Linked DNA regions of Homo sapiens: regions 1, 2, 3, 4 and 5 are each linked to region 6. The links are contacts of gene promoters, found by promoter capture Hi-C in human tissues and cell types (Jung and others, 2019). All regions are on one chromosome and are shown on one strand. Each heading gives the region's core, a stretch centred on a gene start or on the middle of the fragment in contact. The rest is flanking DNA. Distances are from core to core; before and after follow the strand shown. Region 1 overlaps SYT1 (synaptotagmin 1). Region 2 overlaps SYT1 (synaptotagmin 1). Region 3 has its middle 180 kb from the start of SYT1. Region 4 overlaps SYT1 (synaptotagmin 1). Region 5 has its middle 160 kb from the start of SYT1. Region 6 holds the start of SYT1 (synaptotagmin 1).

Evidence for each region. Contacts are between HindIII fragments. The study calls those that stand out against the background at their distance.
Region 1: a fragment that was not itself captured here is called in contact with the fragment with the promoter of SYT1 in region 6 in 2 of the 25 tissues and cell types used here (dorsolateral prefrontal cortex and hippocampus).
Region 2: a contact is called between a fragment that was not itself captured here and the fragment with the promoter of SYT1 in region 6, in 1 of the 25 tissues and cell types used here (dorsolateral prefrontal cortex).
Region 3: a contact is called between a fragment that was not itself captured here and the fragment with the promoter of SYT1 in region 6, in 3 of the 25 tissues and cell types used here (mesendoderm cells, spleen and thymus).
Region 4: a fragment that was not itself captured here is called in contact with the fragment with the promoter of SYT1 in region 6 in 1 of the 25 tissues and cell types used here (mesenchymal stem cells).
Region 5: a contact is called between a fragment that was not itself captured here and the fragment with the promoter of SYT1 in region 6, in 4 of the 25 tissues and cell types used here (IMR-90 fibroblasts, heart left ventricle, lymphoblastoid cells and 1 more).

The regions. Positions count from the first base shown.
Region 1 is chr12:79,056,707-79,061,365 of GRCh38, reverse strand. The region is part of intron 3 of SYT1 (synaptotagmin 1); the gene reads right to left. All of the region lies in intron 3 of LOC105369863 (a long non-coding RNA gene), which reads left to right. Among named protein-coding and RNA genes, the nearest start is that of SYT1, 190 kb to the right of the region's middle. The HindIII fragment of the contact is 3,298 bases long and covers 385-3,682 here.
Region 2 is chr12:79,115,507-79,120,336 of GRCh38, reverse strand. All of the region lies in intron 3 of SYT1 (synaptotagmin 1), which reads right to left. Among named protein-coding and RNA genes, the nearest start is that of SYT1, 250 kb to the right of the region's middle. The HindIII fragment of the contact is 3,375 bases long and covers 652-4,026 here.
Region 3 is chr12:78,686,564-78,691,053 of GRCh38, reverse strand. No RefSeq gene overlaps it. Among named protein-coding and RNA genes, the nearest start is that of SYT1, 180 kb to the left of the region's middle. The HindIII fragment of the contact is 4,391 bases long and covers 492-4,490 here.
Region 4 is chr12:79,010,315-79,015,306 of GRCh38, reverse strand. All of the region lies in intron 2 of SYT1 (synaptotagmin 1), which reads right to left. All of the region lies in intron 4 of LOC105369863 (a long non-coding RNA gene), which reads left to right. Among named protein-coding and RNA genes, the nearest start is that of SYT1, 150 kb to the right of the region's middle. The HindIII fragment of the contact is 4,299 bases long and covers 766-4,992 here.
Region 5 is chr12:78,704,292-78,708,819 of GRCh38, reverse strand. No RefSeq gene overlaps it. Among named protein-coding and RNA genes, the nearest start is that of SYT1, 160 kb to the left of the region's middle. The HindIII fragment of the contact is 4,147 bases long and covers 645-4,528 here.
Region 6 is chr12:78,863,524-78,868,044 of GRCh38, reverse strand. SYT1 (synaptotagmin 1) reads right to left here and starts at 3,271. Exons shown (of 11, transcript NM_005639.3): 1 at 2,936-3,271. RefSeq lists a silencer at 4,428-4,487. The HindIII fragment of the contact is 3,235 bases long and covers 2,907-4,521 here.

The DNA of each region.
Region 1 (4,659 bases), core at 784-3,283, 190 kb before region 6:
GGATTAGAGGATAATGCTGTGTATTATAGGATATATAATATGTGTATATGAGCGTGTCTCTGGCATTGATAAATGCCAGCTAAAAAATTATTGGTTAGCACATAAGGAAAACTGCTGAAAATACTAAAAACTGTATAGATTATTTCCTTCTTATTGACTTAAGGTTCAGACACCAATTCTTGAACAAGAATATTCCATAATACGCTGATTAGAAGTTAAATGGTAGTAGTAGAAAACTTGATGGCTATAAATTTGCATTCTTATTTAGAATCAATGCTCCCTTCCCTATTATTCTATTTAATTTTAGAGAAATGGCAATTTTTAAATACCCTAACTTCACGAATCTTCTGAAGAACAGTCAATGTATCAAAACAGATAATCAAATGAAGACAGGCTAATTCCAGCCTGAGTAGTTAAAATGTGGCATATTTATAACTCATAAATCCTAAATTATCTTAAGCCCATCTATTTTTTTTTGCTGATTGCCTAAACTGAACTAGTTTTCCATGATTAATTTTAGGGCTTATGATATAAAAAGAGAGATGTTCTAAAAATCATGAACTCATTGCATTTCTATATTTGCATCTTATCTTTCCATCAAAGAATTGGCAAAAAGATTTCATTTTGGACAACTCCATTACTCAATAAATCATCAGATAAATGGATAAACAAAATGTGATATATACATACAATGGAATATTATTCAGCCTTAGGAAGAAAATTTTGACACATGCTACAATAAGGATAAACCTTGACAATATACAAAATAACCTAGTTACAAAAGGAAAAATACTGTTTAATTCCACTTATATGACGTAGTTAGAATAGTCAGTTTCATCAAGACTGAAGGTAAAATAGTGATGGCCAGGGGCTGCAGGGAGGGGGAATGGGGAGTTGCTGTTTAATATGTACGGAGTTTCACTTTGGGAAGATGAAAAAATTCTGAGGGTGGCTGATGCTGATGATCAAACAACAGTGTGAATGTACTTAATACCACTGAGCTGTATACTTTCAAATGGTTAAAATGGTAAATTTGATGTTATATATATTTTACCACAATTAAAAAAATGGCTAAAGATACAGCTCTTGAAAATAAAAGCTTTTTGTTACAGGGACGTAGGTTTTGTTTGGGGACGTGGATAACTTTTCTGAAAAAAAGTAAGGGAACAGAGAACTTTTAGTAAAGTTACTGCTATGATAGAGCTGGATAAACAAGTTGTCACTTTGGTTCAACCAGCATTGAGCACCTTCGCTGTGTCAGGTTCTGAGATAGGAGGATGCTCTGCCTACCACACTTGTGGAGCTCACTCTCTTATGCAAAGAGAAATTCATCAGATATTATTTCAGTGTAAGCCCATGAAACAGTTTGCATAATGTCTAGGAGCACAGGTTTTAGCATTACACAGACTTTAGTCTGCATCTGGCTCAAAATATATAAGCTAGTTATTTTGAGCAAGTTGGTTTGCCTTTCAGAATCTGTCTCCTCATTTATGAAATATAGATATGAAAATGCACTTCACAGGAATGAAATGACATGGGAAGCATGCAGCAGGGAGTAAGTGTTCAGTTACCAACATCCACTGTTTCCATAAGCCCTGAGGCAGAGGGATGGGCTATCTGGGGCTGTCTAACAGTAGCCTGGTATAACTGGTTACAAAGGTCTGGCCTGGCCTTACCAAGCCACTTTCATAATTGTTGATGCCAGCCCACAACAAGTACAGCATTTGTTTGATCATTGTGCATGGAGTTATTACTGAAAACATTTTAGTTATATTTATATCCAGAGTTATGATAAAAAAATTGAAAATTGAAAACTTGATTATTTTCTTGTTTTGGGTGGCCAGGTATAAGGAATGTTATAACTAACACAAATAACGATTTCTTTCATATAGAGGTAACTCTTAAAATTTACTTTATGAGTGGATGGTTTTACATTTGAGGTATTGAAAAGAATTAAAATTAAAATATAGGTAAACAATATTATATAATCATGTATTTTACATTTACTTTTACATTTTAGAAAAAATGAAGCAGTTATCTCTAGCTTATTACATCTTGATATGGTTTGGTTGTGTCCCCACCCAAATTTCATCTTGAATTGTAGCTCCCATAATTCCCACCTGTTGTGGGAGAGACCCAATGGGAGGTCATTGAATTATGGGGGCGTCTTTCCCATGCTGTTCTCGTGACAGTGAATAAGTCTCATGAGATCTGATGGTTTTATAAAAAGGAGTTCCTCTGCACGTGCTCCCTTGCCTGCTGCCATGTAAGATGTGCCTTTGACCCCCATTCACCTTCTGGCATGATTGTGAGGCCTCCCCAGCTATGTGGAACTGTGAGTCAATTAAACCTCTTTCCTTTATAAATTACCCAGTCTTGGGTATGTCTTTATTAGCAGTGTGAGAACAGACTAATACATACCTCATTAACAAATCTTCTATCACAAGCTTTGCAAGACCCACTGGGAAAATGTGTATGTATTAAAATAAAGAAACTATAGGCTCCTAAGTATAGTATTGAAGAAAATGTATCACTTCAAGAGCAGTGCAGGGGATGCTGCATTTAAGGCTGAATTCCCACCTATCCCAGTTCCTGTCTCCAAATATCTTCACCCATACTATCTATACATGTATCACTCCAGGACCCCACACTGCCAGAAATTCCTTAAGTTATTTGTTTATTTAAATTAACAATTGTGGTGTGGGGGTCGGGAAGTGAGAAGCAGAGGGGATGCAAGATGCAGGGCTGGTGTGGACACTTTGGCCCAATTATTTTTTCTTAGACATTTCCCCATACCAGCTGTACTGAGTCATTTTGATCAAGAGATAAGTTGGGTTAGAAAATTGGAAACCAAAACCACTTTAAAGAAAAGGCAGCTAGAGAATATCAGTTGGGAAACAGCATTACCTCAGGAAGAAAACAAAGGTGACAAAGAGAGAGAAGGCTGTGTGAAAAGCTGGCTTTAGTTATTTTTCACATATTGGGCAGGGTCAACTGAGTATCAGGAAAAATGGAGAAACATGTTTTTCCTTGTGTCCCTCTCACTCACACAGTCACCATAACCAATGCTAAAAATATTGTCATTTAGCATAAGCTGTGGGTTTTCACAGGTTTTTTTGTGTGGCCACTGTCGATAAATATCCATCTTATAAAATGGAAAGAAAACATCTTAAAAGGAATTTTGTTATATAACTCATTCATAAGTTGGGGACTGCTTGTATTGCTTCCATTCTTTTAGCTGTCTCATTTAATGACAAATCTGGCTTTGCCTTTCAAAAAAACACACTAATAATTGTTCACTTCTTAAAATGGGAACAATGGATATATCCATAAATATACAATTGTCCAAACCCATTTCTTTCTGGAATTATGTTACTAGGCATAATTCAAATAATTATTTTGTTGCATTCTGTAATAAAATGGTATTTATTATAAAGGTTGTGACATATGTAATGCTCATGAGCTTGTCCAACCTGCCTTATTTTGTTGTTGTTGTTTTTATTTTGTTTTGTTTCAGGCTTTTAGCAGCCTGAAGCCATAATTTTTGGTTTCTGTGTCTAATTGTAAGCAGGAAGGAGGGATGAGGAAGGGGTTTTACTGGCCCAACCAGAAACAGAAACTAAGAACCCATGACTGTACTCTCTCCCTTGGACACCCCTGCATGGTGAGTCTAAGACATAGAGGGTATTAAAAACATTTTTACCTTGTGCAAAATTAGAAAAAAAATTTTAAAGTACAAAAGAGAAAGAACATCTAAGACTAACCTTCACAGCTCAAATAGTAAATGCCTAAAAAAAATATATTACTTCCTAGGAGATGTTATAGCAAATTGTGTCAATGCCACATGCAAATATAAAATGGATAAGCAAAAATCCTGAGCAACTTGCAAAACTACTGCTAAGAATTATTTCTTATAATATATTTCAGACTATTGAAAAATTGTATAATATCATTTGGGGGGGGTCATATGAGTTAGAAACCAATGTATTTTGAGCTTTTGTTTAGAGACATTTTCCTTAGTCTGAAACATTTTGTACAAATTCATGAACATAGGCTTTGCCAGGATTCCTTTGAAAATGGAAAACAAAAACAATCACAGGATTAAGCAATTCATATTAACCATAAGAACAGAGGATATAGATTGCTCAAATGTACAATGGAGCATATGCTGAACCAGATTTTTCATCTTTCAGAATAGAAAAGAAATAAAATTGTCAGTATTTGTAATGATTCAATTCCAAGGAAAGGAGGAAAATGCTAAGATACTTATTATGAATTACTTTCTGCTGAAACAGGAATAGTTATTACTAAGACTGGGATATACTCATCTTTAGAGGCATAACAAGATTTTACATTGAAAGGAGAAGTGGTGTTAGGATTGATAGCCCATGTCAGACTGTAAAGGGATTTTTATGGTGTTTGCAAAAGAATGACTCAAACAACAAAACCACTTAAAATGGTGAATATGAAAATTTTCATTTGAAGATAATTAATTGAGGTTTTAAAATGAGGAGAAACAGTATTCTGTATCATGAGGGAAAAATGCAGCAAAATAAGCAACTTTGTCAACTGAGATTTCTTTGGTAAAAGAATAATGCTGTGATTTCAATTTCAGACATCACATACAAAATTTTATTATTTTTTAAAATGAGAGTTGCC
Region 2 (4,830 bases), core at 1,090-3,589, 250 kb before region 6:
AATAGGTAGTTTTTCAATCCATGCCTCCCTTTCTCTCTCCCCCTTCTAGTAGTCCACAGTGTCTTATTGTTCCCATGTTTATATCAATTTGTATTTTTATAACTGATATATAAATTAATTGCTCTGTCCTCTTGAATTGATTGGGTTCTCATCGCCGCATACGAACATTCTGACTTGGGTAAATATATATATATTTTTTCCTAAGCACAGGCCCATTTCTTTGTGTGGTGCTATTGCCCACAAGCAGCAGAACAGATAGGGAGCCAGGGAGCTGAATTCCTTGCTTCTGGGAGGCCTTCGCATGCAAATGTTAAGCTTGATTGGCTCCCTCAGTCTCTTGGATCCTGTTGTTCCACAGCAGGTCTTTAGGAGGCAGCTGGGACCTTCACTACATCTGGCTATACTGGGGATTAAGAAAAGAGGAAGGGAGATGATATTTTTCCCATCTGTGCCTTGGAGAATGCCTAATTAGCTTCTGTCCTTACTCAAGGGGAGAATAAAGCTATTTAAGTAATTTAGCTTAGAAAAAAAAAACAACTTATGAATTAATTCAGGAAGTAAAGGAATCTTCCAAAATGATTTGAAATGTTCCTCTTTGTTTCAGTGAGTCCTGGGTTTCTTGAGTTCATTTACAAGAATATCTTTCTTGCTGTCACGTCAACTCTCTAGACATTTAGTTAACAAATTCCAAAATATAAGACCCTTACAAATTTTTGTAAGACTGGGTCAGAAAAGGATTTCTGGTGATAGTGACATTTACTGAATCTTAAAGGGTGAGGAGGAGTTAGATAGAAAAAGTGAAAGGGTAGATAAGAAGGACCTTCTCAGCTGAAGAAAAGTTATGACTAAAAAAAAAACACCTTATGTGAGAAAATATGTAAGGAGTTGTGTGTCTGGAGAAAAAAGTCAGGGGTCAAAAAACTGAAGAGCGGTAAAGTTTTATAGAAGAAAGCGTGAACCAGATCAAGGAGGGACTTGTTAGGAAGCTTGGCCTGTTTTCTCCAGGAAATGGAGAACCATTAAAGGTTTTTAAAAAGCAAAATGGCATACTTGCATTGTTTACTATTGACTTCTCCAGCAGTAGTATGGAGGACAAAGTTCAGGAGGCTAAAACTGAAGGCAGGAGGACCTGTTAAAAGTTCAGGCAGGATATGATGATAGACACAATAAGAAGTTAGTGAGAGTGGAGAGGACAGGCACAGATTCTCTAGTTGCTTTTGTACATTATAGAGGAGATAAAATTTGTAGGAATATATTAGGGGTAATGGAGAAGAAGAAAACGACCAGCCCTTTCCTACTTTGGCTGGATGGTACCAGCAACCACAGGAAACATAGAGAATAGGGAATTCAAAAGTGGGTAAGTGAAGGATTATATGTCTAGGGACAAGGAAGAGATGTTTAGTAGGCAGTTGGATATCTGGATCTGAAGTTGAGAAGAAAGGTAACAGTGGAAAATAATGGATTTGAGAGTAATCAGAGTATATAAGTAGCAATTGAAACCAAGTAAAGAGATGAGATCACCCAGGTAAATTATGTACCATAGAAAATTAGAGTGCTCAGGATAGGGAGCCTGTGGAACACAACATTTAAAGAGCTACCAGGGCACATTTGGTGAATTTCTTAACACCTGTAAAACTCAGATAATAACGACTTCATTTTGGCTTTGTGGAAACTAGAGGAGCTAACACATGTACAATGATTGACTAGATCAACACTGACATTCACTAAATGCTCCTTTTATTTCCTTTCTAATTTCTATACTAGTGCTGTTTGCTTTATTAAATGGTGGAGATGGTAAACTTGATTACTGTCATTTTAAACAACAAAAGCAGAAAAAGACAGTCTACCATTAGTTTTTACATCAAGATTAGCACAAGAAAATTGTATATAGACTTGAATGAAATGACTTATCTATCCAAATTACATGAAAAATTTGTTCTTAATGTTACACTTGAAAAATGTTTAACCTTATGATCATGCACAACCCAAACTTTGAAAAACCTAACCCAGTAGAGACTGCTGATTTCTTGAAACATCAGCTTCTATATTAAAATCATAGTTTTAGTGGAGTTCAATACATAACCAATAATTTTTAACCACACATGTTAAATGGCAAAATGATTCATTCTAATATGCTGTTCACAAGTACAAGGTAATGGGTTAAGTGATAATGTAGTTCAAGAAAAAAGGGTCTTGTCAAACAACAGGCTAGATCAGCTCTAAAAAGATCAAATTATTTGATGGAATCAGCAAACAGAGAAAATAAGAGACAAGAGCAGGGAGGTCAAAAGGACCAAGGGGTTCCTTTCTCGGCTCTGTGCTACAGATTTGCTAATCCACGTGTCTAGCTCAGTACAAATTTATTTGGTAAACATAGCTATTTTAAATTGATGATAGCCATTTGTGGAAAATTTCTGAACATTTAGGCTCTAACCCTGGAACTCTGCAAATTATGAGTTTTAAGGTGTTACCCTAAGAATTATATAATTTCATACAAAAGTATTTATGACACTGCATTTATGATATCTGGCTACCACCAACAGTGCCATAAATAATATGACCTAGCTCTTACATGTGTTAATGATTGGTTTGAAAATCTTCTGTATGCAACCTATTTATTTTATATATATATATATATATATATATATATATATATATATATATATATATATATGATGTAATACACACACACACACACACAGCCTGTCCTGTGATCTGTCCTGTGGTAGAGGCAGGTGAGCTGTCTGTAGCTCTGCACCCCATGGGCAGAAGCTGGGGTCTATCAGGCCTGAAACTGTGGCTGCAGCTAACAGGAGATTGAGCACACCCATGCTCACATGTGGAAGCTTTTTCCTTGATTTGAGTTTACTCTTGAAGAGTGATGGTGTGGAACTGCAGTCAGCAGTCATCCACTGTGGAGTTGGTTGCTCCTTCTGAAATTGAAATAAATTGGCTGAGGGAATGTACAGAACAGCAGTTGGCGAATTTAACACGGAGCATTGTGGGTCCGCATGGATAATGACTTCATTATATTAAAGCAGAGAAATGCAAAGTGAAAACCTGCTTAACAATATTGTATTTCTCAATACATATTGAGGCACCAAAAATGTAAACAGACCTTTTACATTTTAATTGTAGTAAAACTGAGTGAAGAAGGAATGTAATTAGCCTATAAATGATTTTATTGGGACCACCATCTCTCACTAATCTGTCTTTGTATATTGCTGGTAGATTAATCTCTCCAGTAACAGGACTTTCAAGAAGGAACGCCTACACTCAAGAATTTAACTTTAGTTCAGAAAAGAAAGGTGTTAAAATTTTGTACCATGGCTTCCTCATTAATTTTATTACCCAACAATCTCTACATCAGTGCTTCTCTATTTGGAGAGCTGCTCGTGGATTTCAGAGGAGCCCAGATAGAATCTTACTTGCCCTCCTCACTGGAGGGGGAGAGGAGCAACTTGCCTACTCAGGCCTTCAGAGGTGAAACTCAGGATTTTGGTGTAGGCTCTGAGATATGTAGCTGAATGGAAAATTCTCCTTGACCTCCCAGAGCTCACAATTTAGCAGAAAGTGACAGAATACAGCAAATAGTTATCCTATAATAAAGTGAGTATAGCATACTATGAGAATTCAATATAGGTAAGGGCTAAATTGTTGTCTGCTTAGGGAAGAATATGGGAAAGACTGCTCTTGTAAATGGCAGAGGGCAAGCCTGGTAAAAGTGAACAAAGCATTCACTTTGGACTTTGAAATCTGAAGTTTGAATCCTTAGTTCACCCACGTTGGGCATGTTATATTAATACCCTATGCTGTGAGTTCCTCACTTATGAAATAAGACACAAATAAGAGAGTGTTTTGCTTGATTTGTGTGGATCCTAAGTCAACACCTCACCAACACGTGCAGGAAATACTTTGCCTTCCTAATTTTCACCTATCTTTTCCTCCATTGAATATTGTGTACATCCCTGCCAGTGTAAAACCCCAAGCACTTCTCCTACTGAACACTAATACCAATCCTAAATGTCTTCGTTAGGCTTTTTGGGCCATCATCCTCTGGCACTCCCAATAGACATAGTAGTACTAAGAACAACAAAAATATCAGCCATAGTAACTACAAACATGGGCTGAGGGCCAGTTTTCTTTACCACCTATTATTTGTTTTCCATTAATTATCTCAACTAATCCTACTCTAACCTATGAGGCAACCATCATGATTCCCATTTTAATGACAAGGTACCTGAAATTTAGAGAAGACAAATGATAATTCCAAGGTCATCCAGCTAGTTAGTGACAGAACCAGGTATCAAACAAATATCTAAGTTCAAAGGTTGTATGCTATCTTGTTCACATCATTAGAATCTACTCTGTTTGCTCATTATAGCTTTCAGGGTGTGGGGAAGTGAGAAATTTTATGAGAACTTACTGCATATTTGATTGACAGGCTAATGTCTGAAAAATCCTGTAGAAATATTCAAAGCAACCCTAAACTGTGGAAGGGCATGCCCTGGAATGGAGCCTGGATGGCATGCTGAGCAATAAAGGAACAGTTGACTGTGTTAAAATTTTACAAAGGATATCTGGCATTGCCCTGATTCCCAACAAAAATTAGTAATTATAATTTAAAAAAATTACTTAATATTCTACAATATCAGTGGTGAAAGCTGTGCTTACTTTATGGTTTCTGTGGAAAGAACAAGATGTTTTTGTGCAGAGGCAAGGTTACCTCCTGCTCTTAAAACACTATTTTTGATATTTCACTTAAGGGGGTTAAAAATTTGTCTAGGTAGTGCTGTCTTTCAGATGAAAATGAAAATATTGTGGCAAATA
Region 3 (4,490 bases), core at 1,438-3,937, 180 kb after region 6:
CCCTCAAGTTAAAATACATGGGTATTTTTGCTGGTAGAAGAGATGGCTGCTTTCCTTAAACCAACAAACTAGTTTTATTTACCAAATACTTACCAGTCATGTGAACTAAAAGACATTTGAATCAGTTCCTATTTTTCTGATAAAATACTTGATTCAAGCACTTTTTCTTAAAGCCGATTAATTAGAGTTCTTTCATATATTTTGGTAGTGAAATATTACATACATGACCAATATAAACATACAGACATAGGAACACAGACAGAAGCAAATCTTGTAGCTATATAAGATTCTTCATTTGTCAATTTTCAAATAATTTTCTTTCCTTCTTTAGATTATCAATTTATTGTTTACCTGTGCCATTACTCTAAAAAATTGTTAGCTAGGCAACCCTAAATTTTCATTTTCAAAGATGTGACTCAGGTGAAAATTAGCATTCCAAAGGCATAGAACTTAGATCTAAACACCATTGTTTGTGGAAACAGAAATAACCAGCCAAGACAAGATTGTGAGGAAAAGTAGCTTAAACTGAGGTAAGGTTTGGTATGTAAATTTAAAGCCAATGCCTTTCCCATTGTAAGTTTCTAACGGCTTGCTATGCATGATGGTTGATGCCTGTAATCCCAGCACTTTGAGAGGCCAAGGTGGGAGGATTGCTTGAGCCCAGGAGTTCAAGACCAGGCTGGGCAACATAGCAAGACCCTATCTCAAAAAAAAAAAAAAAATACAGACAAAAAAAAGTTTCTAATGGCTTGGGTGCAGGGAAATGCCATTACAAATGGAGATTTCCTTTACAGATGTGAATTTCTTTACAAAAAGTTTCAAAATAATCAGCTAAATACCTGAAAGTCATGTTTTGGAGACTGATCTAGTTGGATAGGTGATCTTTTCAACTTAGTTTGTTTCTTTATTAGATGACTGACATCAGAGTGGAGTGCTTTAATGAGTAGAGGAAGACATTTCTCTAAATGTTTAAGCAGTGTCTTTCTTATCTAAGTGCACAAAGATGTAGGTAGCCCCCCTGCAGTTACATCCATTCATTGCAACTGCTGTCAGCCATTTTAAAAAGTGCAACTTTCACAGGTAACTTGTCAGCCATTGCACACAAAAAAGTCAAGTTATCACTCACAATACAAAGTAATCCCTGCTACCACCCAAAACCAAGGAGATCAGGTAATATAGTGCAAAATAGAGCAGAGTTTTTTCAAAACAGAAGAAACTGCCCAGAACTCTTCAGACTTTACAAGGAAAACAGAAAACCCCACAAAGTAGGCAGGGTGAGTGGTGCTTTTTTCTATATTTTTCAAGGGATCTCAAAGTCATTAGTTGTCTCCTCTAAATTTCTTCATGTGGTATCATTATGGCAAAAGGAAGGAGGAGCAGAAGTGGAAGGAAATAGAAGAACAAATCTTAGAGAAACTAATTTTGGGAGATTTGAAGCTTTCTAAAGCATCAATACAGGCTGGGAATGGTGGCTCACACCTATAATCCCAGCACTTTGGGAGGCCAAGTGGGGGGTGGAGGATTAACTAAGGTCAGGAGTTTGAGACCAGCCTGGCCAACATGGTGAATGCCTGTTTGTACTAAAAATACAAAAATTAGCTGTGTATGGTGGCTCATGCCTGTAATCCCGACTAGTAGGGAGTTTGAGGTGGGAGAATTGCTTGAACCTGGGAGGTGGAGGTTACAGTGAGCTGAGATCGCACCATTGCACTCCAGCCTGGGCAACAAGAGCAAAACTCCATCTCAAAGACAAACAAAAAACATCAATTTAGTTTAACATTCTTCAGCAAAAATCATGCCAACAAGATAGTGTAACCGCCCAAGGGGTTCACCTTGCCCATTGCCGAGAGAGAAACGATTCATCCAGACAGAGGAACTGCAATAGGGAAAGAATAATTCAAGCAGAGCCAACTGTGTGGGAGACCAGAGTTTTATTATTACTCAAATCAGTCTCCCTGAGCATTCTGGGAGCAGAGTTTTTAAGGATAACTTGGTGGGTTGGGGAAGTCAGTGAGCCAGGAGTGCTGATTAGCCAGGGATGAAATCACAGGGAGTCAAAGCTGTCTTCTTGTGCTGAGTTAGTTCCTGGGTGGGGGCCACAAGATCAGATGAGGCAGTTTATTGATTTGGGTGGTGCCAGCTGATCCATCAAGTGCAGAGTCTGCAAAATATCTCAAGCACTGATCTTAGTAGCAGTTTAGGGATGGTCAGAATCACATAGCCTCCAGCTGCAGGGCTCCTAAACCATAATTTCTAATCTTGTGGCTAATGTTAGTCCTACAGAGGCAATCTAGTCCTGAGACAAGAAGGAGGTCTGCTTTGGGAAAGGGATGTTACTGTCTTTGTTCAAACTATAAACTAAATTTCTCCCAAAGTTAGTTCAGCCTATGCCCAGGAATGAACCAGGACAGCTTGGAGGTTAGAAGCAAGATGAAGTCGGTTAAGTTAGATGTCTTTCACTGTCTCAGTCATAATTTTGCAAAGGCGGTTTCAATAGTAAGCAAACAGAGGGGCAAAAAACATTTAAAAGGGGGTTTTAGTCAAAAGAAAAAATTCCCAGAAACAGGATCCAAAAGAGGAAAAGCAGAAAGAGATTAGAAGTAGAGCCGAAAATTAGCTTTCTCTTATCAGATTTTAGGCAGGACAAATATAAACTAGGTCTCTCATTCAGTTTGGTTCTAAAACCAGTTTTTCTAAATGTGTGTGCAAATAAAGTATTTCAGACATTTCAAAGAATCTATATTTTGAATACTGATTCTAATGACTATTCAGGGTTAGGTGGCTTCATTTTCCTAGATATTTACAAAAGGATGTCCCATAATGTTATACATGAATTCATCTGATTTTTTTTAAAGTGTTTAGATTTTGAAGTTTGATTTTCCATAATTCGGAAGCTTTTCAAAAGCGATTGAGGCCAGGAACGTATTTAGGGTTGAGGTGTGATGTATCTTGGACTGCCTCTAACTGCGAGATGGTAGCAGAGTGCTCAAGGTATCTCATATTATACTCATGCAGAAGAGCAAATGGGGGCACACTTTTCAGTTAGAAACTAAGAGGAGTTGGTCACAAATGAAAAGCTAAATCCAAAGTTTCAAGCAATAGAAAACAGCTGCAATCTTAAAAGCTTGCTATGTAAAATGAAACCACCGGTGCCTACTTGCCAAACCTTTGACCTAAACGTCTGCTGTGAGACAGAGGCAGAATAAAAGGTGGTTCTCTGCAGAGCTCTTTACCTGAAATCCTGTCTAAAGAAGAGACCAAAATTCTCACTTTTTTAAAAAAAGAGAGGGTTTGAAAGCAGCTCAAATACAGTCTAGATCTCCAGTCAAAGATTTGGAGGTCTGAATTCAGGAGAACTCACCTGAAATACCCAGTGAAATTTCTACGGATGAAGAGTTTGTGCTGTTCCAAGTGCCACTTTCAAGAGAAGTACCAGGCCAGGTGCGGTGGCTCACACCTGTAATCCCAGCACTTTGGGAGGCCAAGGCGGGCAGATCACCTGAGGTAAGGAGTTAGAGACCAACCTGGCCAGCATGTGAAACCCTGTCTCTACTAAAAATATATAATTAGCCAGGTGTGGTGGCACATGCCTGTAATCCCAGCTACTCAGGAGGCTGAGGCAGGAGACTTGCTTGAACCTGGGAAGCGGGGGTTGCAGTGAGCTGAAGATCAGTGCCACTGCACTCCAGCCTGGGTGACAAGAGTGAAACTCTGTCTGAAAAAAAAAAAAAAAGACAGAGAGAAGTACCAGGTGGTCAGAGGGAGTCACTCTGAGTCCTATCAGCTACATCAGATATGTCAACCTAAAAGGAAGATGCTGAGTCAAAAATTAACGTAAGTAGAGAGTTTACTTGGGCTAAGCTTGAGAATTAACAATTCAGAAGCATAGATTCTATTGCCCTGAATATAAGCTCTGATTAGCAGTGGTTATAAGTAAATTTTTGAAGGAAAAAAAGAGGCAGTTCCTGTGGTATTTACCAAAAATTTATATTAAAATAACATAAGCTATTGATTGACTATACATTGTTCACTGTATTATAAATTCTAGCAACATGAAGATAATGGGGCCATGGCGGGGGCAGGGGCAAGTTGACTGAAGTCTGAAGTCCCATACTCATGTGAATCTGCACCCTGCATATCTCGCATAGCCCAGGTTGCTCTGAGCTGTTTTCTCTACTTTTCTTTTTCTCATGCCCTTATAAAAGAGACTCCAGAGAGTGCCCTCCTCCCTTCCATCATGCTAGCTTGTAGTGAAAAGACAGCAGTCTAGGAAGCAGGTACTCCCCAGGCACCAGATCTGCTGGTACCTTCACCCTGGACTTTCCCAGTTTTTAGAACTGTGGTTTATAAATCACCCAGTTTATGGTATTTTGTTATAGCATCCTGAATGGACTAAGACAATTAATGGATTACTCAGTAGAAACTTATATTTGGTGGAAAGTAGAAATGGAGACATCTTACCATGGCTGAATTTATATACCTCCACAAGC
Region 4 (4,992 bases), core at 1,666-4,165, 150 kb before region 6:
TATTAGAGTGCAAGTTTAGCTTTGAAACTTTTAACTTACATTTAATATCAAAGTTTTAGAATGCATTTTCTTTTTTTATTTTTTATTTTATTATTATTATACTTTAAGTTTTAGGGTACATGTGCACAATGTGCAGGTTAGTTACATATGTATACATGTGCCATGCTGGTGTGCTGCACCCATTAACTCATCATTTAGCATTAGGTATATCTCCTAATGCTATCCCTCCCCTCTCCCCCCACCCTACAACAGTCCCCAGAGTGTGATGTTCCCCTTCCTGTGTCCATGTGTTCTCATTGTTCAATTCCCACCTATGAGTGAGAACATGCGGTGTTTGGTTTTTTATCCTTGCGATAGTTTACTGAGAATGATGATTTCCAATTTCATCCATGTCCCTACAAAGGACATGAACTCATCATTTTTTATGGCTGCATAGTATTCCATGGTGTATATGTGCCACATTTTCTTAATCCAGTCTATCATTGTTGGATATTTGGGTTGGTTCCAAGTCTTTGCTATTGTGAATAGTGCCGCAATAAACATACGTGTGCATGTGTCTTTATAGCAGCATGATTTATAGTCCTTTGGGTATATACCCAGTAATAGGATGGCTGGGTCAAATGGTATTTCTAGTTCTAGATCCCTGAGGAATCGCCACACTGACTTCCACATGGTTGAACTAGTATACAGTCCCACCAACAGTGTAAAAGTGTTCCTATTTCTCCACATCCTCTCCAGCACCTGTTGTTTCCTGACTTTTTAATGATTGCCATTCTAACTGGTGTGAGATGGTATCTCATTGTGGTTTTGATTTGCATTTCTCTGATGGCCAGTGATGGTGAGCATTTTTTCATGTGATTTTGGCTGCATAAATGTCTTCTTTTGAGAATGCATTTTCAAAGAGAAGAAATATTTGCACTAAAATAGGCATGATATGGAATGGTTAAAGGGAAGAATTCTAAACATTATTCTAAATAGTATAAAGTATTTGAAAAGACTGGGAATCATATCTGAACATAGGTTTCAGGTTAAATTTCAGAAAAAATAAATTGTACTAACTATGAGACTTGTTACTGATGAAAATATTTGAACTGGTTTTTCATTAGAAGTTGTCAAAAATACCCAAGGCTTATTTTCTTTTCCTTTTTCTTTCTTTTTTTTTTTTTTCTTTTTTTTTTTTTTTTGGAGAGAGTCTCACTCTGTTGCCAGGCTGGAGTGCAGTGGCACAATCTCAGCTCACTGCAACCCTTGCCTCCTGGGTTCAAGCGATTCTCCTGCCTCATGATCCCGAGTACTGGGACTACAGGCGCCCACCACCATGCCCAGCTAATTTTTGTATTTTTAATAGAGACGGGGTTTCACCATGTTGGCCAGGAGGGTCTCAATCTCTTGATCTCATTATCTGCCCGCCTTGGCCTCCTAAAGTGCTGGGATTACAGGCGTGAGCCACGGCGTCCGGCCTGAAGGCTTATTTTCTAACAAAATGGACATAATGATAGAATCTTGGTCTTACATGAAGAAAACCTTCATAAGCTTACCCTTCTAATGTTTTCTCTTAGCCTTTACATTCTATAACTATCTAGAATAAAAGTGGCTTTATATAGTAAATGAAGAACCTATCTGATGTTTTTGCTTTGTTTTCTATAACTGGACTGGATTGGATATTTTTATTAAGACCTCCTAGGTGTTATAGAGGAAAAAACGCAGGAAATATAGTGAAATATGCTTCAGATGCTTGCAGAGAAGATGGGGAGATGAGTTAGTGAGAAAGGGCTACCGCTTATACAAATGGGTGCTCCAACAGCATCTACTTGTAAGAGAGTTGGCTAAAATTCAGTGTGCAAGTTGTAGTTACAGTTTATAAACAGTTAATCCCTCTTGGAGTTCCTGGTGCCCATTACTGGACTCAGTACATAGCAAATATTGAACAATTATTTGATGAACCCACTCAGTGAACTGAAATCATAGACCTGATGCTCTCAAAGTGTTTTAAACCCTCATTCACTTCTTCAACAAATACTTATGAAATACCTACTATGCTTAGGCAATATGGTAAACACACACACACACACCAACACACAATCCCTGCATTCAGTCTAGTTAAGGTGATATTAAGCAAATAAACTCATGAAAGAGAATACAAAAACAAACAGAGAAGTGCACTCTACAAGATAGAAATAGTGTTTAATAACTGACCTTGATGGGGAATCAAGGTAGGCTTCTTTGGTAAGTGACTCCTGAGCTCACATGTGAAAGACGAGTGTTAGCTAGGCTGGTGTGGAAGCAAGCAGAGGTGGCACAGACCTCCAGGTAGAAGGGACTGCATGGGAGGAGGGGCCTTGTAGTAGAAAGGAGCATGGCACAGTTAATGAAGCAAAGAAAGAGGGTGGATGCATCTGGAGGTGGGCTGGGGTACGTCCCAGAAAGCACAGCAAGCCACATTAAGGACATTACCTCATCATAAAGCATAATGAGAAACCACAGAAGGAAAATGCCATTCTGACTACAAAGCAGTGGCAGTCCGGAAAGAGGCACAGGGAGCAGCGACAGGGTGCACTCTCCTGTTTTCAGAAGCATTGAACACTTGTTTGTAGACAGCTGGCTGTTTTTGCCTACACACTTCACAAGGAACCAGGAAATATTATAATAAATTTTCCCTTCAGCTCTTTTTGAAAGGAAGAGCTATATAATGGTGACGTGACCACATAGATCCCAGAAGCACCACAATAACAAATAATAGAATTGGAAAAGTGATTCTCTCCTTACTTATTGAAATCTCTACATATACTTACATTTTTGTGAACAAAGAAGTGTTTGCCTTTTGTATACCAGAATAGTACCTGCTCAATTATGCTTGAGTAAGAGATGGTTTGTGCTATGTATGGTCAAAAAGTAAGATATCATCCAGGTGATTGGATCCAATCTGCCTCTAAAACTTAAATCAGTGTCTAGTCCACAGTTGTCTTCTGTAATAGATAATATGGTGGTGAAACTTCAGAGTTCTCAGTTACCATGTGTGGTCTGTCTACTCCTCAACCAGCACTGACTGTGCTGATTCCCAAAAATAGAGTCTGGACCTCTTACCGCTACAAATTCCAGGTTCTCAGGTACAGCCTGAGAGTATGCAGATATAATACACCACAGATGATTCTCTCCCTTTTTTTTTTTTTTTTTTGAGACAGAATCTCATTCTGTCACCCAGGCTGGAGTGCAGTGGGCTGATCTCGGCTCACTACTGCTCCCGCCTCCTGGATTCAAGCAATTCTCCTGCCTCAGCCTCCCGAGTAGCTGGGACTACAGGTGCACACCACCATGCCCATCCAATTTTTGTATTTTTAGTATAGTTGGGGTTTCACCATGTTGGCCAGGCTGGTCTTGAACTCCTGACCTAAGGTGATTCACCCGCCTCAGCCCCGCAAAGTGCTGGGATTACAGGCGTGAGCCACCATGCCAGGCCTAAAACACCCACAGATGGTTCTTAAGAAAACCTATGTTTATATTTTAGGCAAAGTTTCCTAATTATTCATATATATATGAAACACCCAGGGAGCTTATAAAATGCAGATTCCCAGGATCTACTCCCAGAAATTTTAATTCAGGAGGTTTAAAATGGTGATTGGTCACAGGTGTTTTTTTTTTTTTTTTTTTTACAAATCTCTGGAAAATGTTAAGAGCAAAATTGGCAGCTATTGTTTTAAAAATTCTTCCCTAGTTTATTTGAACTATTTCTAGCAAGATCTTTCAGAAAGCATATAGATTCCTGTGTTGTAAGTTCTTAGAGGTCAGGGACAGTTTTTTTCAACTTTCTCTCCTTAATATTATGATAGGATTAACTCTTATTTATTCTTAGGGTCTCTGATGAAATGTTATTTCCTTCTTGACTAGATGGAATGCCCTACTATAAATTTGCATATTTCTCTGTAATTTCCCAATCTGGTCACTCATCACACTTCCTTGTAATAAACTGATTAATTATCCTTCTTCTAAGCTGGTATGTAAACTTAAGGAGATATTGTTTATTGTATGCTCAAGAGAATCTTTAATATCTAGCAGAGTACCTAGCAATTAATAAATACTTATTGCATGAAAAAATATGCAGTAAATGTTAAATAAATGTTTCCATTACTTGAAGACTGTGGTCTCTTCCTTAACTTCCTCTTCACTAATGACATTATATTATTTCGAGTAAAGTTTCATATTATATTCTAATGCAACCTTTTAGCCATTATTTCTTTTAAGAAATAGAACGCAAATTCTGTAAGAACTTCTCAACAATGATTGGCATAATGACCTAAATCTGGCTATTTCTCACCATCTCTGCAGGTACAATTCTAGACCAAGACACCTCTGTCCTTCCTTCCCTTTGAGGGGAAATAAAATAGGTTTGGAAAACGACAACATTCTTATGGGAGCAAGATTGCTCAGGAATTAGGTAAATATAAAATGAAGGGTACAATTAGAGGATCTAGCTTTAGAAGAAAATTGTCTTCATAAAATGAATAATGAAAATACAGATAGAAAGGTGAAATGATTAGGATGACCTCTAGAAAAAATTTTGAACTTCCATAGGGATGACTTGAAAACTGATAGCAGGACAGGACTTTATGAGTCTGTAGTGAAGGAACAAAGGCATAATCAGTGAGAATCAAAAGATCAGAAGATCTGGGTGTTTTGGAGGCATTATAGGAGGAATTGAAATTTTAAATCAGGAATCCAGGTTTAATTTAAAAAATATAGTAGGGAATAGTGTAGTGGGCTTTATTTAATAAGTGAGGGGATAAAATATAGATACCTCCTCTCCCCACTTTCATATAAAGAGGTGCGGTCTTCATCAAGGGAGGCAGTAGGAAATACTACTACAAACAGCTTGGTCCCTGCTGTGAACACATAAGGAAACATTTTGAGAGGAGAATTTGTTCAGAATGAAGTGGAGGATTCCATAGTAGGCAACCAAAGTGAGAAAAGGGCATGTGATAGATACATGTGAGACAT
Region 5 (4,528 bases), core at 1,469-3,968, 160 kb after region 6:
AACCCAGTCACTAGTCACAGAGGTCCCTCTTTCCCTTTTCTTAAAACATTTACTTAAATATTTTTTCATTATAAATTCCTTCTCTGATTCTGTGCAATTTAAATTTTTTAAAAATCCTGTTGTCTGTGTTACAACACAGGACTGTCTTTTCACGGACCTGGGAGCCATCCCTTTGAATCATAATCATTAAAAGAGATAGCACCACTATCTCCCAATCTTCGTAGGAGGGTAGGAGACTAGCTAGTCTTTCCCCAAGTTGTGTAATTATCGCCTGTCATGAAGATATGAAAAAGCTTACTTTTCCTTTGGGTGAGGCCAATTAGCACATACATATAGACTATGATCTCCGTACTCCAGAGCTTAAAAATTCTCTTGCTCCTTTTTTAGCAGAGTCACGGTCACATTGCCTTCTGTTTTTTCTTTGTTATTGCAATAGCCTTGAATAAAATCTTCCTTACTTGTTTAACTTCGTCCAGTCAAATTTTTCCAATCAAGTTTTTGCATTGAGAACATTAATTTCTTTCCCTTTTTCTCAGTGTTGTATTTGTACTCTTCAAATTTGTCTGGTATGCCATCGAAAAAACACTAATAGTATGTTTTTGCTCTTTTCAATATGTTTTTGAAATTATCAGTTTTATTAGTTGTAGTAGCTCCTTTTCCAATTGATAATTTATTTGATATTTTTATCTTATCTTTGATATCTTTAATATGCTGGACAGAGTAAGCCATCCTTTTCTAAAATTCAAAAAGCTGACTTATCTATGCTTTGCGTACAACTTTATCTTCTTTCATTATCTTGAAAAACGTTTGTATCAATTAAATACTGCAATTAATCTTGACTTCAGTATAGACACTTTCACTAAGGCCAATAATTGCTTCCAAACACTGTGCAGAAATTCTCTTTGACTTTCCTTCTTTCCATCGTATCACTCAATATCTTAAATTGGAATGCTCCGTGTTGTTGATGACTTTAACCTTTGTTCAATTGCTAAAGCTTATTCAGCTGCTTGGAGGAGTGGGCACTAAGGGAAAGGGCAGTATGCAGCCAACATTTTGCTGATTTTTCCTACAGGTTCATTGAACCCCATCTCCTACTGGCATTTCTGGTCAAATAGGTGTGAGGTGAGTATGGGAGCTCCATATCTAGGCTTCCAAAAATGAATACCAACCTTGTGAAAAGTTACATCCAATATGAATATCTGTGGCCCACAGAACGTTGCTATTGAATTTACACACAGGATATCTTTGTTGACCCCTAATGTTTCCACCTTTTTTTCCTTGTCTCTCCTCTGATCCGGCTATTGCTACAATCTGCTCCCTTTTCTCTTACATTAGGAATAAAAGTTATTTTGTATGGTCAAGAGGTTTCTTGCTCACTATCCATCCTGTTCTACAGAATGCAAATGTGTCCACAAACATTTCTCACTATTGATCTGCAGGTTAGAGAATTTAGTAGTGCTCTTCAGAATGTTATCATCCACCTTTTAAACTCTTTTTCATATTTAGTATTACAAGTAATATTTATTGCAATCACAGAATACTTCATTTATGTCTTCATTTTATATTTTCTAGCAGACTACTTTCAGAATGTTAAGTATGGACTTTACTGTGACAGTTTAGTTTCATTGTATATGTAGTTTAAATCCAATTCAAGGTTGTTTTTGTTCAGTCAAAGGGTTTGAGAGAGATTAATGCATTGTGCACTATGCCAACTTTCTTGGAAGTCTTCCCAAATTAGCATTAAAATCATATTCACATTTTCTCTCTGCAGCAAATAAAACATTTGGTCAATTCATATGAGGCTTGATTAGCACCCATTTGCCTAATCTCTTAATGATTTGACATGTTAGCCTCCTAACTGGTCTCTGTGCTTCAGCTCTTGTTCCTATCTTCAGTTTCTTTTCAGCAGAGCAGCCAGAATTATTCCGTTCAAATGAATGTCCAAATCATGCCACTCCTCTGCTCAAAATCCTTTAATAGCTTCTGTTTTACTCAGAATAAAATCTGAGGTTCATATTATGAATTGTAATGACCTTCATGGTCTGGGCCTTTCTTTTACTTCTCTAACCAAATCCCTTACACTTTCTGTCTAATTCACACCAGTTGAGCCACCCTGCTTCGTTGTCTTGAACAGACCCCCTAAACTCCCCTCAAGTCTTTTGCAATTGCCTTCTCCCAGCATAGCCTATTCAGATTGAGTCAACCAAGATTCTCAGAAAGGCTTTCTCGACCATTCTATCCAAATTTCACGTTATATTTCCTAGCATTCCTTTCCTCTTTTTTCTCCTATAGCACTTACTAACGTCAAATAGTCTATTTATTTTACATGTTTATCTTACTATTTTCCCCATGAGACTCTAAGTTCCATGTGGGCAAGGCATTTTTGTCTCCTTTGTTCACTACTGCATCCCCAGTGCCTAGAACAGTGGCTGGCTGTTACAGGCTCCATGTTGGGGACCGTTTAAATTTATGACTTGAATCTCTAACCTCCAATGTAATGGTATTAGAAAGTGGACCTTTGGAGATGTCATTAGGTTTCAATGAGCTCATAAGAATAGAATCTGCATGATGGGATTAGCACCCTCATAAGAAGAGGAAGAAACAACACAGATTTCTCTCTCAGCCACGTAAGGACACAGTGATAAGGCAATACCTGTGAGCCAGGAAGAGGGACCAAAACTTGACCATGTTGGTTCCTTGATTTCAGACTCCCTGCCTTCAGAACTGTGAGAAAGTAAGTATCTGCTGTTTAAGCCACCTAGTCTATGGCTCCTTTTTTAAATAGTGGCCCAAGCAGATTAAGACACTGCCTAATATTTAAATGAATACATTAATAAGTAAAGGTCTGGAAGGAAAAGACCTTGAAAACTTGGGTCCCTATGACCTCCTTTGCAAGCAGGACTCAGCTGTTACAGACCAATAGGATGCTCCATGTTATCTAATTTGGTGATTTAAAAAAAAAAAAAACAAAACCAGTGATGTGGAACTATAGATGACATGGTTCAATTGAACATTTATTACATAGAAACACTACAGTATATTAATTACAAATGTGGAATTTGGAGGCAGAATGTCTGCATTGAATTCTCACTCTGCTACTTACTATACCTTGTGCAAGTTAATTGTTCACATGTGTATCATCTGTAAAATGGGTATAACAATAATTGTAATACCTGTCTCAAATAATTGTTGTGAGGATTACATAGGTTCATATATTAGAGCATTTGGAAGAACTCTTGGCATATATTTAGTGGTCAATAAACATTAAATATTATTAGTCCACTGTTGTGAGGTTGTTTAGTTTCATTCTAGGATTCACAAATAAAAAGATATGCTTCCAAGCCAAATAGCTACCATTTTGCAGACCACTCTGGTTTACAGATGAACAAAACTTTTACAGAATACAAAGTTCACTCTTTAAATTTTACAGGCAATGAGCAATGCATTTTAACCTTAAATAATAAAAAAAACCTGTCAATTGTTGCTGATGCTTCTGAATCTCTCAAAGGTCACAGCCATCTAGAGATGAATCTGGTAATCTGAAAACTTTTGCACAGCACTTCCTTGGGTTAAGATACTAGGCCTACTTCTATCCTTTATAAGTCAAAACTACAAACACATAGTTATACAGTATTAGAATAAGAAGAGGTGTAGGAGATTATAGAGTCACATGATCAAATTTAAGTCCTAGTAGAGAGCTTTCACAATGAGTGTTCAATATGTAATACAACTCTTAGGGTTTAATATAATATCTATTATATCAAGAAGAAATAACTCACCATGGTACACTTTCTACTTGCTTAGACCAATATTAACATATTTTCAGCATAAGTAGACCATTAAAAATTAAATATATATAATCATACTCAAATGCCAGAGAATACTCAAACACTTGTTAGTAAGATGCCAACTGAATAAATATCAATTAAATGCATGTGCTTTACATAAACCCCACATAAATATACATGAACATAGTTTCATTTAACACATCATGAGTACATTGCACCCCTTTTAAAAATTAACTTTTTGCCTTTAGATGCAGAACAAAATCCCAAATAAAATTGAAAGTTGATATTATTGTGGCTGAAATGATGGAAAGAATAGCATGTGACTTTTATATTAGGAGTATTTGGTAAATCAAAATCACACTTTAAATGTCTATATCTTTATGCAATTGTGAGCAATTTAACATTGTCATTTCTCTGTGCTAACTAAAATTAACCATCTAAAGAAAGAGTATATAATTAAGTAAAGAGAAGGTATTTTAGGAGACTTTTTTATTTTTGCACTGATTACCCAGTGCTATCCCCAAGTCATGCAGTTAATCATGCAGAAACTATTCTGTTTCTTACCTATTTAAGAACTTTAATTGTCTCAGAATTTTATGCTCCTGATTTCTCACTTGCTTTCTTTCTCTGCTCATGAATTCCTATCTGCTTACAGATCTTGATATGCGTAGCATAGTCGTGCCTTTAACTAACACATTACTCATCTAAAAAGGAAATTGCTCTTACCCTTGGGAATGTTC
Region 6 (4,521 bases), core at 2,022-4,521:
GGGAATTTTCTCAAAATCAACTTAATATACTGACATCAAAAGTGATGAACTGATATTATGTTAATGGTGTTATTAGGCTAACAGGAAGTTCAAATTAACTTTCAGATTTCTAACATATTCTACATTTTATTTTATTAATCTTCCAGCTCATCTTGCATATAATTAATACAAGCATATAATTAATACTATTTTTTAGTTTCAATTTCAGTCTAATATGCAAATCGTATAAATACAATGTTATTCATTTTCATATTTGTTGATTAGAACTATCTGATAATTTGACCAGATGAAATAACTAATATTCTCCATTATGAAATGAAGTTCAAAACTACTCAGCAACAACTCTCAATCATGTGGTATTTTTGTGAAATTAGTATTTTAGGATTTTCCCTATATATTAGCAGTCTTCAATTCTGACAAAAATACCTCGAGGCATAATTATCATATTTACTCTGAAACATTAATGAGATTTACTAAAATATCCTGTCAAAGGGAGAAAAAACAAAGATTGTATGAAATTGTGACATTAGACTATTTTGTGGGATAACAAAGTAAGAATTTCCTATAATATATCATGTAAGGTCTCTCCCCAATCCACTCACTATATATTGGAATTAGTTCTGATTTCCAATACACAGATATTGAATTTTTTAGAAGTATTTGAAAAACTACTCATATCCATATTTTTAGATGTTATTTCTATAATTAACATTTGTAAAGAGTCATGAAAATAAATGTCACAAACCAAGCCTAAATTTTCACATATTCCTAAGACAGTGGAGAAATGAGAAAACAAAATCTTAATTTTCTCACATGAAGGCAGCTGGCTTCCTTTTTGTACATCTTTTCATGTCTAAACTTGTTAATTCAGTTGTACATACATGTGAGGTAATTAAGTGATTGTCCCTTTGTCCTTGTAACCAAAAGGTGGCACCTCTAAAAACCAGAGTTAGCTTTCAACAGAGACACTATTTTTTTTTTTTTTTCATTTAAATGTCAAAGCCCTAGAAAGAAAATCGTTTTTCGTGACTTGGTAATTCTATTTAGGGAGAGATCATTGCCTCAAATGCAAAATGGTTTGGAAAATAGTACACATTACACTGATGGCAAATGAATTCAGCTCTTCTCTAAGTTGGTGTGTAAACTTATATATTAAACGTACGTAGTGAAAAAATACTCTCTGAGATACAAAATTAGTGTGGAAGGTCAGACACAGTTAAGATAGAAGATTCTCTTTTCTTATATCAAGTGGAGTTCTAGACAAAAAAAAGTAAGACTCTGCATTTCCCCTGATAAATAAAAAGAAGTGTTTTGTATACTAACATCTGTGGATTTCTCTGTGTTCAGGTAAGACCCACTTGGAATGCTTTCCTATTACATCAAACGAGGCATTTCTCTATACCTCCTTCCATCTGACAGTACTATCGCTTAGCTGTCCCTGAAGAATAATAAGAAAAGAAAGCTTATATCCCCAATGATGGAATTAGAGACTGCTGAAGCTGCTGTAAAGGCTCTGTCCAACAAGTACCATTTACTTGACCTATTATGCAGGCAGCCAGGGGCATGTTGGTGTTTTGATATATTTTTCTTTCTTTTAACAAGACGTTACAAAAATGTTTTCCCCTTCAGGATTTTTAAAATTTAGGGTATCTTTCTAGCATTACTTTCTAAACTTAGTTCCAGTACAGGAGGATTCTTGTCCAACTGAGCCTCCATGTGCCTTCTAAAGGGAGTGCTGAAATTGTATAAACATCATGTTTACATCCATTAAATATTGTCCTATTAAAAGAAAATAAAGCCAGGCATAAGTTTGGTATCCAGACAATAAAATGCAAATAGTACAAAGGTAGAATAAAGTGAAAATTCTACACAAATGTAGCTTCCATACAAAAGTTAAACAGTTGCTTTATTTCACGAAAGGGTTAATACTGGAGAAAGTGAATATCAACATGTACACAAAGCTAACTAGAAGATTAGCTTTCTCAAAGTAGAAATCCAAGCCTCCCTATAAAATTGTTGTCCCTTGCAAATGTTTTGAAACTTTACATTTTTTGATCCCCCAACAACAGGCCATACCAAGAAACCTCAGGAAAGTAATAATCTATTTTAATTGTTTTTTTTTTTTTGTTACTCAAGAAAGCTTTCAAAGTTCAGATATTAACACTGATGTGCAATACCAAATTGTTAGCCCCACAGGACAGATGGAAACAGGAAAAGTCAGATGGTTGGCACTCAAAAGCAAAAGCAATTAAGCAGTTGAAAGTGGGTTGGATTGTCGGTTTATTTTTGTTCCATTTGAACGAATCAAGTGAGAGACATAGACTCTTGCAAGGAGGAAATCAAGTCAAACTTGACGCTTCCTCTCTCTGACAGCCCAAGCTGGACTGGTTGTCTACTCCCCTTATTCAGTTTAATTGCTTTATGTGCTCTGATTTTCGCAGAGCTTGTATTCTATCTTGTTTACGTTCCCCCCCCCCCCCATATCCCTCTCCCCAACAGAAAGAAATCTTTCTCCTTTCTTCACTCCCCCTCTTTCCTCTAAGAAAGGCAATCCTCTCCAGGAGGAGAAAGAAACGCTGTGCGTGCTTAGGGTGGGAGGAGGGCGAGAGGGGAGGTGTGGGAGAGAAAGAGAGAAAAGATTGAGATTGGGGGTGGGGGACGGAGGAGAGAGAACAAGAGAAGGAAAGAGGAAGCAAGAAGATGGGGGATGCCCAACATCAACTCCAGGCTCTAAATCACGGGCGCTGTGCAAAGTGCTTTTCCAGGAGATGCACATGTAGTCTCATATTTCTCACAATAGGCCACCCGGGGATCCCTCCCTAGGTCTCAGACTCCCACCACTAAAACCCAAGTGTATCGAGAAGAAAATCTTTGGGATGGATTCGAGCAGATAGGCACCGCCGAGGTGGCCGCGCCGCCAGTCCCGCTTCCTTACCTGGAGGGCGGACCGGGAGGTGGTGCCGGGTCTCGGTCCCCAGTGCTCTCCCCGCGTGGACCGGCGCGAGGCACACGCGTACTCTCGCTGCCTCCGCTCTTGGAGGGGCAGCCTGCAACACAAAAGGGGTGTGTGGGTGTGGGTGTGTGGGAGGTTTTCCAGGGCCACCAGCTGGTCCCACGTGGTCGCCCCCACCCTACACACACCCCTTCGGGGCGCCAAGCCCCCCTCTCGGCTGAGCACCACCCTGGGGACTTGCCCGGGGTGCAGCCTCAAGTTGCCGCTGCTAACTGCTGCTGCCGCTGCCGCTGCTGCAGGAGGAGGTGGAAAGACACTGGGGGCAGTACTCGGTCTAGAGCATCCCCACACTGCAGCTTCTCCAGGAATCCCTCCAGTGAGGAGGCGGCCGCCCATCATCTCCGAGCCCCAGCATCCTGATTGGCTCCACCTCGGGTACGCTGCGCCAAGGAGCCAATCCCCGCGCACTAATAATAGGTGGATCCGTTCAGCCAACATCGCCCATCCCAGTTCTGTTAGTGTCTCTCCATCCCCACAGCGGACAGGGACCTGGGAAGCGGGGTGGAGGCGGGTTGGGGGAGGGGGTGAAGTAAGAGGGGAACAGATCCCAAGGAGACACAATCAAGGGCGTCTGATAAAACCTCTAGGTAGACTCAGGAATGCCCCACAAGCTGTTCAGCAAGCAGTATGCACAGGAGAAAGAGAGCATAATACAAAGCTTTTTTTTTTTTTTTTTTACTCTCAATCAAAACCTACCCTGATACTGAGCATGCCCAGACTGCAACAGCGACCTAGGAGTTTCGATGTGTGTGGGTTCGCCAGCTGTGGGTTTTTGAAAAGCTGGGACCGGGGACAGGAGAGGTAGAAGTTTGTCTTTGGCCATTTAACCCGGCGGAGTTGTGAAAGCTGGGTAGGGTGGGGATGTGAAAGGGTTCCGCACAAGTGTCCTCAAACTGAGCCGCGGGGAGGTGGCCCACCTGGCTGCCGGAGGCTCATCATGCTGTTCTTCTGGGGTTCCGGGTTGGAAGCGGGGGCGGGATAAGCTGAGCTTTGCTGGAAGCCTGGGGACTTCCCGCGAAGGGTGCGGTGGAGCCGAGATGCGGGAGAAGCAGCTCCGTCCCATAGGTGGGGCCGGGAGCGCGACTCCACCCATCAGCGGCGGCTGCCAGGCCGTGGAGAGTGCACTGGGAGTTTCCATTGCAGCGACCAATAAGTTTGTACACTTGGGTCAAGTGCAACATTGTTGGAGATGCTTTTTTATTTTTTCATTTTTATTTTTTGCCACCTCCCTCCCCCATCTCTCTCGACCCCTTGCCAGAGCAGTGACGACTAAAGCATAGATTCTCTCCCTGCTTCCTCTCTTCCCAGCTGAACCGTTCTGCTCGGAAGTAAGAAGCTTTTCTCTTGTGAGGGCGGTGGTGACCTGATTGTCTCTAAGCTCTCAGGCAATTTATAGCTTGGTAATACCGAAATACCGAACAGGAAGGCTCAGCGGGTGGGGGAAGGGACCGCGCGCCAGGCTAGGGGCGGGAGCGGAGCCCAGCTGGGAGAGGGGCCCGTCCATTATC